Regions from separate parts of the Homo sapiens genome. Here region 1 is linked to region 2. The links are contacts of gene promoters, found by promoter capture Hi-C in human tissues and cell types (Jung and others, 2019). All regions are on one chromosome and are shown on one strand. Each heading gives the region's core, a stretch centred on a gene start or on the middle of the fragment in contact. The rest is flanking DNA. Distances are from core to core; before and after follow the strand shown. Region 1 has its middle 7.2 kb from the start of CCDC144A. Region 2 holds the start of ZNF287 (zinc finger protein 287).

Region 1 (6,524 bases), core at 2,375-4,874, 110 kb after region 2:
TTACAGGCAGATCAGGCTAAACTTCCTCTCTCTGGAATAAATGCCATGACCACTGCTCTTTGAGCATTATTTTTCTTAAATTATTTTTTAAACAAAAATTAATCTAACTTACATTAACCAAATTTCTTTTCAAAGTAATCACATTTCTTTTAAGTGAAAAATGTTTACCTTCTGTTATAAAGAATTCTCTGAATACAAAATATTTATTTTTTTTAAACTTTAGAAGAAATTGAAAATATCTACATATTACTAATCTAAAAATACAGGCTCTGGGTTTATATGGTGTTAACATGTCTTCCAAATTTTAAGGAATAAGTATTTAAATGCCATGCGCTTTGTTTTCCAATTTAGAAAATGTTCCAACCTTTTGGCTGGGCATGGTGGCTCATGCCTATAATCCCAGCACTTTGGGAGGCCGAGGTGGGAGGATCACTTAAGTCCAGGCATTCGAGACCAGCCTGGGCAACATGGTGAACCCCATCTCTCCAAAAAATTACAAAAATTGGCCAGGCATGGTGGCACTACCTGTAGTCCCAGTTACTTAAGAGGCTGAGATGGGAGGATTGCTGGAGACAGAAAAATTGAGGCTGCAGAAGGTAAAGTGTTGAGGCTAACAGATGGTAAAGATTTAATTTTTCACTTAAAAGAAATATTGGTTACACTGAAATTTGGTTGATGTAAGATAGATAAATTTCTGTTAAAAAAAATTTAAGTGAGTCTTGTTAACACCACTGCACTCCAGCCTGGGCAACAGAGCAAAACCTGAAGAAAGAAAGAAAGAGAGAGAGAGAAAGAAAGAGAGAAAGAGAGAGAGAGAAATAAAGAAAAAGGAAGGAAGGAATGAGGGAAGGAAGGAAGAAAGGGAGGGAGGGAGTGGGGGAGGGAGAGACAGAGAGAGAGAGAAAGAAGGAAGAAAAAAGGAAGGAAATAAAACAAAAAAAAAATGTTTCAAGCTCTACAGTAGCAAAGCCACTCTGTAATGAACAAACAACAGAACCAAAACAAAAAAGGATTCTACCGACCAATCTAACCAACAATACAATTATGAAGTTGATTCAAATATCAAAAATCAATTTTAATAATAACTATATGGTATGAAAACCCCACAAAGATCAAGTAGGATGTATTATACTTGAATGAATTTATGAGTTGAGAGTAGGAAATCTATAAATTTAATCAAACCAGTCTAAGAATCATGAGGAAATTGTACTGCTAATGTATTATTTGACAAGCCATTCAGTGGAACAAAGATATTCTTAATGAAGTTGCATATATATTTTAAAATGTTATCGAGGTAGATTTTTAAAAATGAGATGAATAACTTGAAAAAGTATTCAGGGATAAAGAGAAAAATAAATTTAGATAGTTTACATATATAAAATATATTTTAAAAGCTAGGCTTGTCTTTTTTTATTCCTTAAATAAAAGGAATGGATATTTAAATCCCATGCCTTTCATTTTAAAATTTAGGAAATGCTTACAGCTTCCCACACTGAAATCTATACTAACACAGCTAATCTAATCAATGGATAACAAAATCAAAACAAATGGAAATCTCTTGACCAATCTATTTTCTTGATTTTTGAAAGTCTAAATGTATACTCAAAGAAAGAAAACTATTAATAATTGATTCTGTTATTTGAAAACATTTATTGATCATTTACCTTACACTAAGTGATCTCCAGCTCATGGAGACAGATCAGTGGAAAAGTATGTAAAGTTACCCAGGTTTGTTAAGCTTAAATTCTAATGAGGGAGAAAAGAAGTAATAGCGCAGGTACTTTAAAACAGGAGCGTTGGCCGGGCATGGTGGCTCACGCCTGTAATCCCAGCACTTTTGGGAGGCTGAAGCAGGTGGATCACCTGAAGTTGGGAGTTCGAGACCAGTCTGGCCAACATGGAGAAACCCCGTCTCTACTAAAAATACAAAAAATTAGCCGGGTGTGGTGGCGCACGCCTATAATCCAGCCACTCGGGAGGCTGAGGCAGGAGAATTGCTTGAACCTGGGATGTGGAGGTTGCGGTGATCCCAGATTGCGCCACTACACTCCAGCCTGGGTAACAAGAACCAAACTCCGTCTCAAAAAAAAAAAAAGTGTGTTATGATACGGCTTGGAATTCTAAAAAATTGCATACTGTGGTTGCTGTGTAGAGACTGGAATGAAAAAAAGGGCAATGATAAAAGCTTAAATTCATATAGAATATGGCTAGCCTATAATTTTGAGGGTGCCTGAAATAAGAATTTATAATAGTTCTCATTATTTCCCCCAAGAAATGTCTGCAGTAGAGCCCTGACCGTGTGAGGGAAGTAGTGTAGTTACCAAGTGGTGAGGGTGGGAAGGTGAATTTGAAAACACCATTTGGAATTACTGCACTTTAAAGGCAAAGCTGGCAGGTTTTCCATACACGACAGATCTGAAAATGGGTGTGTGTGTGTGTGTGTGTGTGTGTGTGTGTGTGTGAGATGGAGAGACAGAGAGAGAGAGAATGAGAACCAGACAGATACAGAGAGAACTAAAAGGGGATATCAAGAATATTGAGCTGAGAAACTATAAAATGGGAGTTGCCATTAAACAGATAGGGGAAGAGCAAGTCTGGGGAGTATTGGAGGCTCCATGTGGACCTTCATTTTGAGATTCCTGACTGACACCCAAGTGAAGAAGTCAGACGGTGCTGGGTGTAGTCTAGTGTTGAGGTATAATATGAAATATCAGGAAATTAATGACACAAAAATTAGTAAGAAAGTAAATAAAAGAAAGATAAGTCCAGGTCCTGAGCCTAGTGCTTCTCTAACATTTAAAAAATAGTAAAGGTGAGAAAAAAACAGCAAAAAAGGACTAGGGGTAATTATAAAAAATGTCAGGGGAAAGTGGGTTAAGTGTTCTGGAATTCTATCAAAGAAAGTTTTGCAAAAAGGACAGATCACCTGTGTCAAATGCTGCTGATACATAAATTAAGACAAAGGCTGAGGAATTATGCTTTAATTCATAATTTAACAATATGACTATCGTTTGTGCTTTGAGAAGAGCAATTTTGTTGTAGTGAGTAGGTGAGAAACCATATTGGAGTCCTTACTAAAAGGAATGTCTGATCTCTGGATTCTCTGTTTTTTTTTTTTTTTTTTTTTTTTTTTTTTTTTTTTGAGACAGAGTCTTGCTCTGTAACGCAGGCTGGAGTGCAGCGGCTCGATCTCAGCTCACTGCAACCTCTGCCTCCTGAGTTCAAGCAATTCTCCAGCCTCCTGCTTCTACTCACAGAAGCAGAGAGTAGAATGGAGGTTACCAGGGGTGGAAGGCAGGGGTTTGGGGAGACGGTGAAATCATTCAAAAGTGTAGTTAGACAGGAGGAATAAGTTTAAGAGATACATTGCACAACATGGTGACTGCAGTTAATGTATTGTATTCTTGAAAATCAAGAAGGGTTCTCACCACAAAAAGTAAGTATGCATATGTTCCTGAGCGCAATGTAATCATTCCACCATCTACCTATTTCTAAACAGGTTTTACACAACATATATACAATTTTATTTGTCATTTAAAAAACGAATGAATTGTAAAAAGAATTAAGTACTGGAAAACTTGTCACAGTTTAGGACAACTCTCTTTGTAAAATTAGTGGTTCTTGGGAGTCAAAATGCTTCCTGGTGCCGGGAGTGAGCGATGAGCCGGCTTCTGTCCCTGGCGGCAGAGTCGCCTTGGCCGCCTTGCCCTGCCGCCGCTCTCGCGGGTTCGGGATGTTCTATGCCGTGAGGAGGGGCGGCAAGTCCGCGGTCTTTCTGACCGGGAATGAGTGCAAAGCACAGGTGGACCGGTTTCCTGCTGCCAGATTTAAGAAGTTTGCCACAGAGGATGAGGCCTGGGACTTTGTCAGGAAATCTGCAAGCCCGGAAGTTTCAGAAGGGCAGGAAAATCAACATGGACAAGAATCGGAGACGAAAGCCAGCAAGCGACTCCGTGAGCCACTGGATGGAGATGGAGATGAAAGCGCAGAGCCATATGCAAGCACATGAAGCCGAGCGTGAAGCCGAGCGTGAAGCCGAGCGTGAAGCCGGCGCCTCCAGTTAGCAGAGACACGTTTTCCTACATGGGAGACTTCGTCGTCGTCTACGCTGATGGCTGCTGCTCCAGTAATGGGCGTAGAAAGCCACGAGCAGGAATCCGCGTTTACTGGGGGCCGGGCTATCCTTTAACTGTAGGCATTAGACTTCCTGGGTGGCAGACAAACCAAAGAGCGGAAATTCATGCAGCCTGCAAGGCCATTGAACAAGCACAGACTCAGAAAATCAATAAACTGGTTCTGTATACAGACAGTATGTTTACGATAAATGGTATAACTAACTGGGTTCAAGGTTGGAAGAAAAATGGGTGGAAGACAAGTGCAGGGAAAGAGGTGATCAACAAAGAGGACTTCGTGGCACTGGAGAGGCTGACCCAGGGGATGGACATTCAGTGGGCGAGTATCTTAAATGTTCATGTCCCATGGCTATTGTGACCAAATAAGCTAAGTTTACTAGAGATTAATGGTTTATGTAAGTGGTTTAATGACATAACAATTTCCATGAAGTTAATATCATAATATATATTAAAACATATTTGAGGCTGGGCGCGGTGGCTCACGCCTGTAGTCCCAGCACTTTGGGAGGCTGAGGTGGATGGATCACGGGGTCAGGAGTTCAAGACCAGCCTGGCCAGTATGGTGAAGCCCCATCTCTATTAAAGAGTACAAAAATTAGCCAGGCGTGGTGGTGTGCGCCTGTGGTCCCAGCTACTCGGGAGCCTGAGGCAGGAGAATCACTTGACCTGGGAGGCTGAAGTTGCAGTGAGCTGAGATCACGCCAGTGCACTCCAGCCTGAGCAACGATATGAGACTCTAAGACTCCATCTAAAAAAAAAAAAAAAAATTTGAGACTGGGCTCAGTGGTCCACATCTGTAACCCAGCAATTTAGGAGGCCCAAATGAGCTGACTACTTCAGCCGAGAAGTTTGAGACCAGCCTGGTTAACATGGTGAGACTCTGTTTCTAGAAAAAATAAAAAATTAGCCAGGTGTAGTGGTGCATGCCTGTAGTCTAGTTACTCAGGACGCTGAGGTGGGAGGATGACTTGAGCTGGGGAGGTCGAGGTTGCAGTGAGCCAAGATTGTACCACTGCACTCTAGCCTGGGCGACAGAGCGAGACCCTGTCACAAAAAAACAAAACAAACCCACCCATGTACATGCATTTGATTCTTTTCCTTATCATACAAGTAATACATTTTTTTGGTTTGGTTTGGTTTGGTTTTTGAGACAGGTCTTACTCTGTCACCCCAGGCTATGGCGTGATCTCATTGCAACCTCTGCCTTCTGGGTTCAAGTGATTCTCATGCCTCAGCCTCCCAAGTATCTGGGATTGCGGGCATATGCCACCACACCTGGCTGGTTTTTGTGTTTTTGGTAGCGATGGGGTTTTGTCATGTTACCCAGGCTGGTCTTGAACTCTTGACCTCAAACAATCCACCTGCCTTGGCCTCTCAAAGTGCTGGGATTACATTTGTTTTATGTCATTTATTTCTTTTCCATGCCTTTTTGCACTAGCTAGAACTTCCAACGCCGTTTTTTGTTGTTGTTGTTTTTGGTTTTGTTTTTGAGATAGTCTTGCTCTGTCACCCAGACTGGAGTGCAAATGGCGTGGTCTCGGCTCACTGCAAACTCCGCCTCCTGGGTTCAAGTGATTCTCCTGCCTCAGCCTCCTGAGTAACTGGGATTACAGGTACCTGCTACCACGCCTGGCTAATTTTTTTGTATTTTTAGTAGAGACGGAGTTTCAACATGTTTGCCAGGCCGGTCTTGAACTCCTGACCTCAGGTGATCCACCTGCCTCGGCCTCCCAAAGTGCTGGGATTACAGTCCAGTACAGTTTTAAATAGGACAAATGAAAAAGGGAATCCTTGCCTTGTTCCTGATTTTACGGGGGGAGTGGGAGTGTTTTCTGTGATTGGTTCTGTTTTTTATTTTTATTTTTACTTATTTATTTTGAGACGGAGTTTCATTCTTATTGCCCAGGCGGGAGTGGAATGGTGCCGTCTCAGCTCACTGCAACCTCCGCCTCCTTTGTTTAAGTGATTCTGCTGCCTCAGCCTCCCAAGTAGCTGGAATTACAGGCGCCCACCACCACATCTGGCTATTTTTTTTTTTTTTTTGTATTTTTAGTAGAGAGAGGGTTTCATCATGTTGCTCCTGCTGGTCTCGAACTCCTGACCTCAGATAATCCACCTGCCTCAGCCTCCCAAAGTGCTGGGATTATGGGCATGAGCCACCGAGCCCGGCTGTTTTTTTTGTTTTTTTTTTTTTTTTTTTTTGAGACAGAGTTTTGCTCTGTTGCTCAGGCTGGAGTGCCAGTGGCGCGATTTCAGCTCACTCAGGGGTGAGCCACCACACCTGGCCTGTGATTGGCTCTGTTTTTAGTAATTATGTGCAAACCATCTAGAACCAGCTCTGGGCAATGGTGTTGCAATTTCCCTCCCTCCATGCTGGCACCATACCAGCCC
Region 2 (6,716 bases), core at 3,378-5,877:
AACATGTTATAATTAAAATGTTAAGATATTTTTATGTGTTCTATGGTTAAATTCAGTCTTTCTTTTTAAAAATATAACAGATACCAATAATCACAGTGTTGAACTGCTGCACTGTTAAATACATTTCACAATCTGGTAAGGTTAGTGCTTTTCTTGTTTGCTCCTTTTGTTAAAAATATAGTATTATCTTACATGTTTCTTTTTTCTCTTTTTTTATTTGAGAAAGAGTCTTGCTCTGTCGCCCAGGCTGGAGTGCAGTGGCCTCCTGAGTAGCTGGGATTACAGGTGCACGCCACCATGCCCAGCTAATTTTTGTATTTTTAGTAGAGACAGGGTTTTGCCATGTTGGCCAGGCTGGTCTCCAAACTCCTGACCTCAGGTGATGCAGCTGCCTTGGCCTCCCAAAGTGATAGGATGACAGGTGTGAGCCACTGCGCCTGGCCACGTGTTTATTTTTTCATATAATTGTCAGTATCTTTAAAAAAGTCATATTGGAGGCCAGGCGCAGTGGCTCATACCTGTAATCCCAGCACTTTGGGAAGCCAAGGCAGGAGGATCACTTTGAGGCCAGAAGTTTAAGACCAGCCTGGGCACATAGTGAGATCCCATCTCTTAAAAAATCTTTTCTTTTAAATCATACTGGGATTTAAAAATTGTATTAAGTTTATAACTTAGGGAGAACTGATGACTTTATAATATTCAAGGTTTCTTTCATGTTCTACAAAATATTAGACATGAAAGTACTGCAATATTTATATTATGCTTAGTTTTAGATATTTTAAATTTTTTTCGGGGGTGTGATACTGGAGGCATTTTTTTCATTTTATCATTTATCTCATTTTTATATGTATATATGTAGATATATATATAAGTATATATATGTAAGTGATTGATTTTTGCATGTCATTTTCTGTAGTCATTTTATCCAATTTTTCTATTAGTGTTTCTAACACTTTTTCCCTTGATTTTGTTAGGCTTTCCAGGTAAATGTTCACACTATCAATGAATAATCATTTTAACTTGGTTACCAAAAGCTTTCCAATTTCAGAAAAACCAGTTATATTTTTACAGTAAATCTTTCTCTTAAGGTATCTTGAGTTACTATTCTTTAAAATAATATAGACTCATGGCCGGGCGCGGTGGCTCACACATGTAATCCCAGCACTTTGGGAGGCCAACACGGGTGGATCACCTGAGGTCAGGAGTTCAAGACCAGCATGAGCAACATGGCGAAACCCTGTCTCTACTAAAAATACAAAAATTAGCCAGGCATGGTGGCATGCACCTGTAACCCCAGCTACTCCAGAGGCTGTGGCATGAGAATCACTTGAACCCAGGAGGTGGAGGCTGCCGTGGACCAAGATCGCACCACTGCACTCCAGCCTGGGCAACAGAGTGCGACTCTGTCTCAAAAAATATATATAAATTCATGACCAACAGTAATATGACAGAATGCATGGCCTTTAACTACTTGTTAATGAGGAAAAATAATAGTAACAATCATCTATTAATTGCTTAACTGTAATCCAGGCTAACTACAAGTCTCATAATATTTAATACTCACAACCTAAGAGGTAAATTCTATTTATGAGAGTAGAATAACTCAGGCTAAGAGAGGTTAAGTATCTTGTCCCAAATTGCAGTTCCAATGGTAGAGCCGGGAAACAAAACCTAAATCCATCTGGCTGTGGAGGTCAATCTCGTATTCTCTATGTGATATTGCTGACAAAGTCAAAGTAAGGAAAGACATATCAAGGGAAGGCAATGGAAGCACCTTTTCTTTATAGTACATTCACCTACCTTAACAGACCAAGATAACATAGGAGAGAAACTGGGGCTTAAGTCCTTGATAGAGCTTCTGGGGGCACAGTAGTTATAGGGCCAGGTCAGAAAATGTCCTCACACACTAAGAAGGCATTTTAAAATCAGAAAAGACAGTCACACTCACTTTGGTCACCAAGTCATTTAGCCATCCTGTCTGGAAAGCATGTTTTCCTCTGGGGTCTTCCTCTGGGGTATCTTGGGAAAGGGTAGAGTTTTGAGGAGCTAGAGAAGAGAAAGAGGTCATGAGGGAGATTAGTCCTTTCTGAATAGCCTAGGAAACCCCTCACCAAATAGATGCCTACACTTTCTTAAATCGAGAAGTAAGAAGGAAATCAAAAACAGCACTCCTACTTCAAAGCATCAGAGGAAAGGGCCAATGACTTGTCCTAAGACATCAAAACAGACTTCAAAAACAAGCTCGCTCTAAAAATCTTAAAGAGTATGAACAAAATTCACATTTTAACTAAATCCTTATGTGATATTAATTTTGTGAGTTATCTCTTAATAAGGGAATGTTCTCTAGACCCTTTCTTCCTTTTTTGGAAGTATTTTATTGTAAAATTCAATTCACAAAGCAAATGATTTATTAGTAGAATGGTGCAAACCTCTGAAGGTACTTTCTGAGGGCTCACACAGTGGTAATTTGGTTGCGTCTGGTCATTATTTCAAGACGTTTTTCTTGGGGGTTTAGATAATGTGTGTTTGCTCCCAAGCAATCTGGAAGGAGAACACCATGCAGGATGGAGCTCATGTTAAAGCCTTGTTCTCACTCACTAACCTTTGTTCTCCCCAGTTTCTTTCTTTTTAAAAAATGCATCCTGGACCTCTCAGTGCTCTCCCTGATTTCTTTAAAGGAGCTGCTCAGATGTGCTAGTTGTCTTCTTTAACCACCCAGGGATTCCTCCCCTCTCTGCTCTATGATTCTCACCTTCCTCTTCTAGAATCTGAGTCAAATCCTCCACCAGAGTCACTGCTTCCTCGCTGCTCTCTGGATACTGGGACTTTACCCAAGTCCTAACCTCACCAGGCAGGATGGTCAGGAATTGCTCCAGCACCAGCAGCTCCAAAATTTGTTCCTTTGAGTGAATCTCAGGTCTCAGCCACTTAAGGCAGAGCTCTCGGAGTTGACTCAATGCCTTTCGAGGACCAGCCAGGTCTGGGTATGGAAAATTCCTAAAATTCTGTCGACAGGTCTCAGTGTCACGCAAGAATCTTGAAGTAAGGATTTCCTTCTCAACATTGTAGGGTCCACTCTGAGCCTTGTCTGACTTCCACCTTAGAAGGATTTGAGAACGTGAAGAACTGTTCATCCTCTTGCTTGAGGCTAACATTGCTACAGACAGGAGAGTCAATCTGGCAATATCCTTTATTTCTCCAGTAGTGAGCCAACTGCTTGAAGTCTCATGCTAGAGTCACAAGGACACTATATCAAAGGCTGCTGCAGCCGAGGGCAGAACAGAATCAAGGTAGAGTTAGCAGCCTTAGTGACAAATTCTGAGCCCAGAACTTGCAGGGATGGATAAGAGACCCTGAAACACAAGCATGGACCACAAGGTCAAGAATCCCTGGTGTACTCTACTATACATATACACACACAGAAACAGACTCGCAGTGTGCATAGATGAACACACATAAGCTTTACCTTGTCTTCCTCCCCTATATCCTTAGACTTGTAAGGGAACTGCCATCTGCTTGGGGTTGGTGGGGGATGGAGCTGCTATTAAAAAGGTAGTGTCAGAGGCAATGACTCGAATCTAAGCCAAACAACAGATTAAACCTCTAACCTGTTGTAACAAAAATTAAACATTTTTATAGAGAAAATAGTTTCATTATTTTAGTCACTGATGTTACAGAAGCTGTAATGACTGAACGGACTCTCAACAATAACAAAGTGAATCTGTTACTTGGAAGAAACTAGGAGAATTTCTTCTTAATACAGTGCTCAAGGTTCCCAAGGGAACTGTCAGGGGAAAGGGCGAGCCATTTATCTGCGTTGCATGTTAATGCCAGCCGATTCTAGCCTTTCACTATCAGAGGGTTGGGAAGACCAGCGGGTTGGACTGGAAAAGAGTGAAGAGGTTGGTGTGACTTCAAGTCCTTTAAGTGCTTCTATAGGAGACAGTTCTTTAGGGATATATTCGAAACCAGGATTCTCGAAGGAAACCTTAGAACCGGCCTGATCTGGAGGAGAACCGACACCACCTCTCCCCAGGCTCCAGCTCCGAGCCCTGCTGAGGCACAGTCGTGCCACCAAAGACAACTGTTTACAAGGCCCTGCGGAGGTGATGCGACAGCCTTGCCTTGCCTCCTGTCGCCTCCCCTTCCCGGCCAAGTCCCTCTGCCTCTTACTCCTCTTCAGCCGCAGGGTCGAGGTCGAGGGCAGCGGGGGAGTCGGGGACCGTGCGACGCGCAACGCTGGGACTGGGCCCACAGCAGCCTCCACCCCGTCTTTGCCCTCCCGCAAGCCACGAGCACGGGAGCCCGCGCGTGGACGGGCTCGGGCTGTCACTGATCGCGCGGACACTCGCGCGCTGCGCCCGGACATCAATACCTGTCGCTGGGACCCGGCCGACGGGCAGCCGGAGCGGCCCTAAGGCCACAGGCAACAATGGCGACGCTGGCACAGGCGCCTGCGTGGCGGGCTCAGTCCCGAGCGGCAGCGGATCCTCGGGCTCCGCCACTTCCCTTCCCCGCAAAGCACAGAGTGTCCCGGCCAGGAGCTGCACGTTCCAGCCCGGTCCTGAGAAGCCCGGCCCAGAAACCCCGGCGCCTCTGCTTAGCCGCGACCTCGCCTCGGCGTCACTGCGCATGTGCGCCAGAGGAACGCTGCGCGCCCGCAGAGCCAATCGGAGCCCAAGCTGCCGCCTCCCCCTCCCGCGCCTCTGGCCCTGGACCTGTCTCCATGGCAACCTCCTCCACCCATCGCTCTGACTTGCTTGTCAGCCTGCGAGGTTCCGAAGGGAACTTCAAAGTTTCCCCGGGCAGACGCAGGTCTGGTAGACGTCTTGGAGGCCAGGGAGGTGCCAGTAGCTGGAGGAGCGCCGGGAGTTGAAGCCCCGCGCCAACTACGCAGAGAAAACTGGGCGCCAGATTTCCTAGAGGAAGAATGGGCAGGGAAGATGTGGGTCTAAAGGCAGAAAGACTTAATGTGCGGTTTCGGGCTTTACTGTGCATACATACTAACTGTGAAAGGTTTTCACTTCCTCCTCAGGAATTTGATTCTGAGACTCTCAGATTGGGGGAAAAAAACCCATGTTCTTTCTTTCTTTCTTTTTTTTCTTTTGAGACGGAGTCTCGCTCTGTCGCCCAGGCTGGAGTGCAATGGTGCGAGCTCGGCTCACTGCAACCTCCGCCTCCTGGGTTCAAGTGATTCTCCTGTGTTCAAGTGATTCTCACTTGAACTTCCTGGGTTCAGCCTCCCGAGTAGCTGTTATTTCTAAGAGACACAAAACAAAAATACATAAAACACTGGAAAAATAAAAGCATAGAAAAACATATTCAAGGTGTTCCCGTTATCTACTGTTCTATTAACAAACCACCCCAAAACTTAGTGGTTTTGAAGGACAATCACCGTATTATGCTCATAAATTTCATGGTGAGGAATTTGAAAGGGGAACTGAGTGGGTGGGCCTTTGCCTCATTATGTCTGTAGCCTCTGTTGGGATGATTTGATGGCTGGGAGGGCCCGCTTCCAAGATGGCTTTTCCACTCACATGTCTACTGCTTGGGAGGAGATGGGCTAAAAGATGAACTCGGCTTGTGTTTGACCAGAGTGCCTCAATGTGGTCTCTCCAGCATAAAGGACTGAGGGCAGCTGGACTTGTTACATGGTGGCTCTGGGCTCCAAGAGTGAGCATTCCAGTGAACAAGAGAGAAGCGCCATGGCCAATTATAACATGGCCTTGGAAGTCACCTAACACCAATTCTGTCAGACTCTTGGTCAAAGCAATCACAAGCCTACAGAGAATCAAATGGAGGCAGAATCCTGTGAGGGTGGAGGAGGACTGTCAAAGACTCTTAATATCACCACACCAGGAAAATTTTAACAAAAAGAAAGTTGGACCGGGCGCGGTGGCTCACGCCTGTAATTCCAGCACTTTGGGAGGCCCAGGCAGGTAGATCACCTGAGGTCAGGAGTTTGAGACCAGCCTGGCCAACATGGTGAAACTCCGTCTCTACTAAAAGAACAAAAATTAGCCTGGTGTGGTGGCGCACGCCTGTAATCCCAGCTACTCAAGAGGCTGAGGCAGGAGAATCACTTGAACCTGGGAAGCGGAGGTTGCAATGAGCTGAGATTTTGCCACTGCACTCCATGTACTCCAGCCTGGGCGACACGAGCAAGACTCCATCTCAAAAAAAAAAAAAAACAAACTTGGGGAGTGTGATGGTCTTTTGATGTGTCAACTTGGCTAGGCTACAGTCTCTTGCTATTTAAGTAAACACGAATCTAGGTGTTGCTGTAAAGGCATTTTGTAGATGAGATTGAAGCCCATAAACCCAGTTGGACTAAGTAGCATGGGAGATTATCCTAGATAATTTGGGTGGGCCTGATTCAATCAGTTAAAAGCTTTCAAAAAAGAACCGAAGTTTCCCTGATGGAGAAGAAACTCCATCAGCGTACCACAGCTTCCAGCCTGCCCTTCCTGATGGGGTGCTCTTATGGACTTTGGACTCACCTGGTCACCCCCTCAATCGAGTAAGCCAACTCTTTGCCACAAGTATCTTAAATATCTACTGGTTCCGCTTTTTTGATTGAACCCTGACTGATACAAGTAATAATTCTAATATCTGATAAGCTAGAATTTGAGAAGATTAAAAGGGAATAAATAAGAGTGCTTGATGGAAAAGATATATTTATCATAAATATACAGCATGTCCCTAACACTAAGGCC

Evidence for each region. The method cuts DNA at HindIII sites, captures the fragments that hold promoters and counts their contacts. A contact is called where the count stands out against the background at its distance.
Region 1: a contact is called between a fragment that was not itself captured here and the fragment with the promoter of ZNF287 in region 2, in 5 of the 25 tissues and cell types used here (H1 embryonic stem cells, dorsolateral prefrontal cortex, liver and 2 more).

What each region holds. Positions count from the first base shown.
Region 1 is chr17:16,679,778-16,686,301 of GRCh38, forward strand. It overlaps a transcript of CCDC144A not described here and the pseudogene RNASEH1P2. Among named protein-coding and RNA genes, the nearest start is that of CCDC144A, 7.2 kb to the right of the region's middle. The HindIII fragment of the contact is 7,976 bases long and covers 1-6,524 here.
Region 2 is chr17:16,564,577-16,571,292 of GRCh38, forward strand. ZNF287 (zinc finger protein 287) reads right to left here and starts at 4,628. Exons shown (of 6, transcript NM_020653.4): 1 at 4,376-4,628; 2 at 2,753-3,353; 3 at 1,949-2,046. The coding sequence starts at 3,155. RefSeq lists enhancers at 3,691-4,192, 4,193-4,692. The HindIII fragment of the contact is 5,740 bases long and covers 2,248-6,716 here.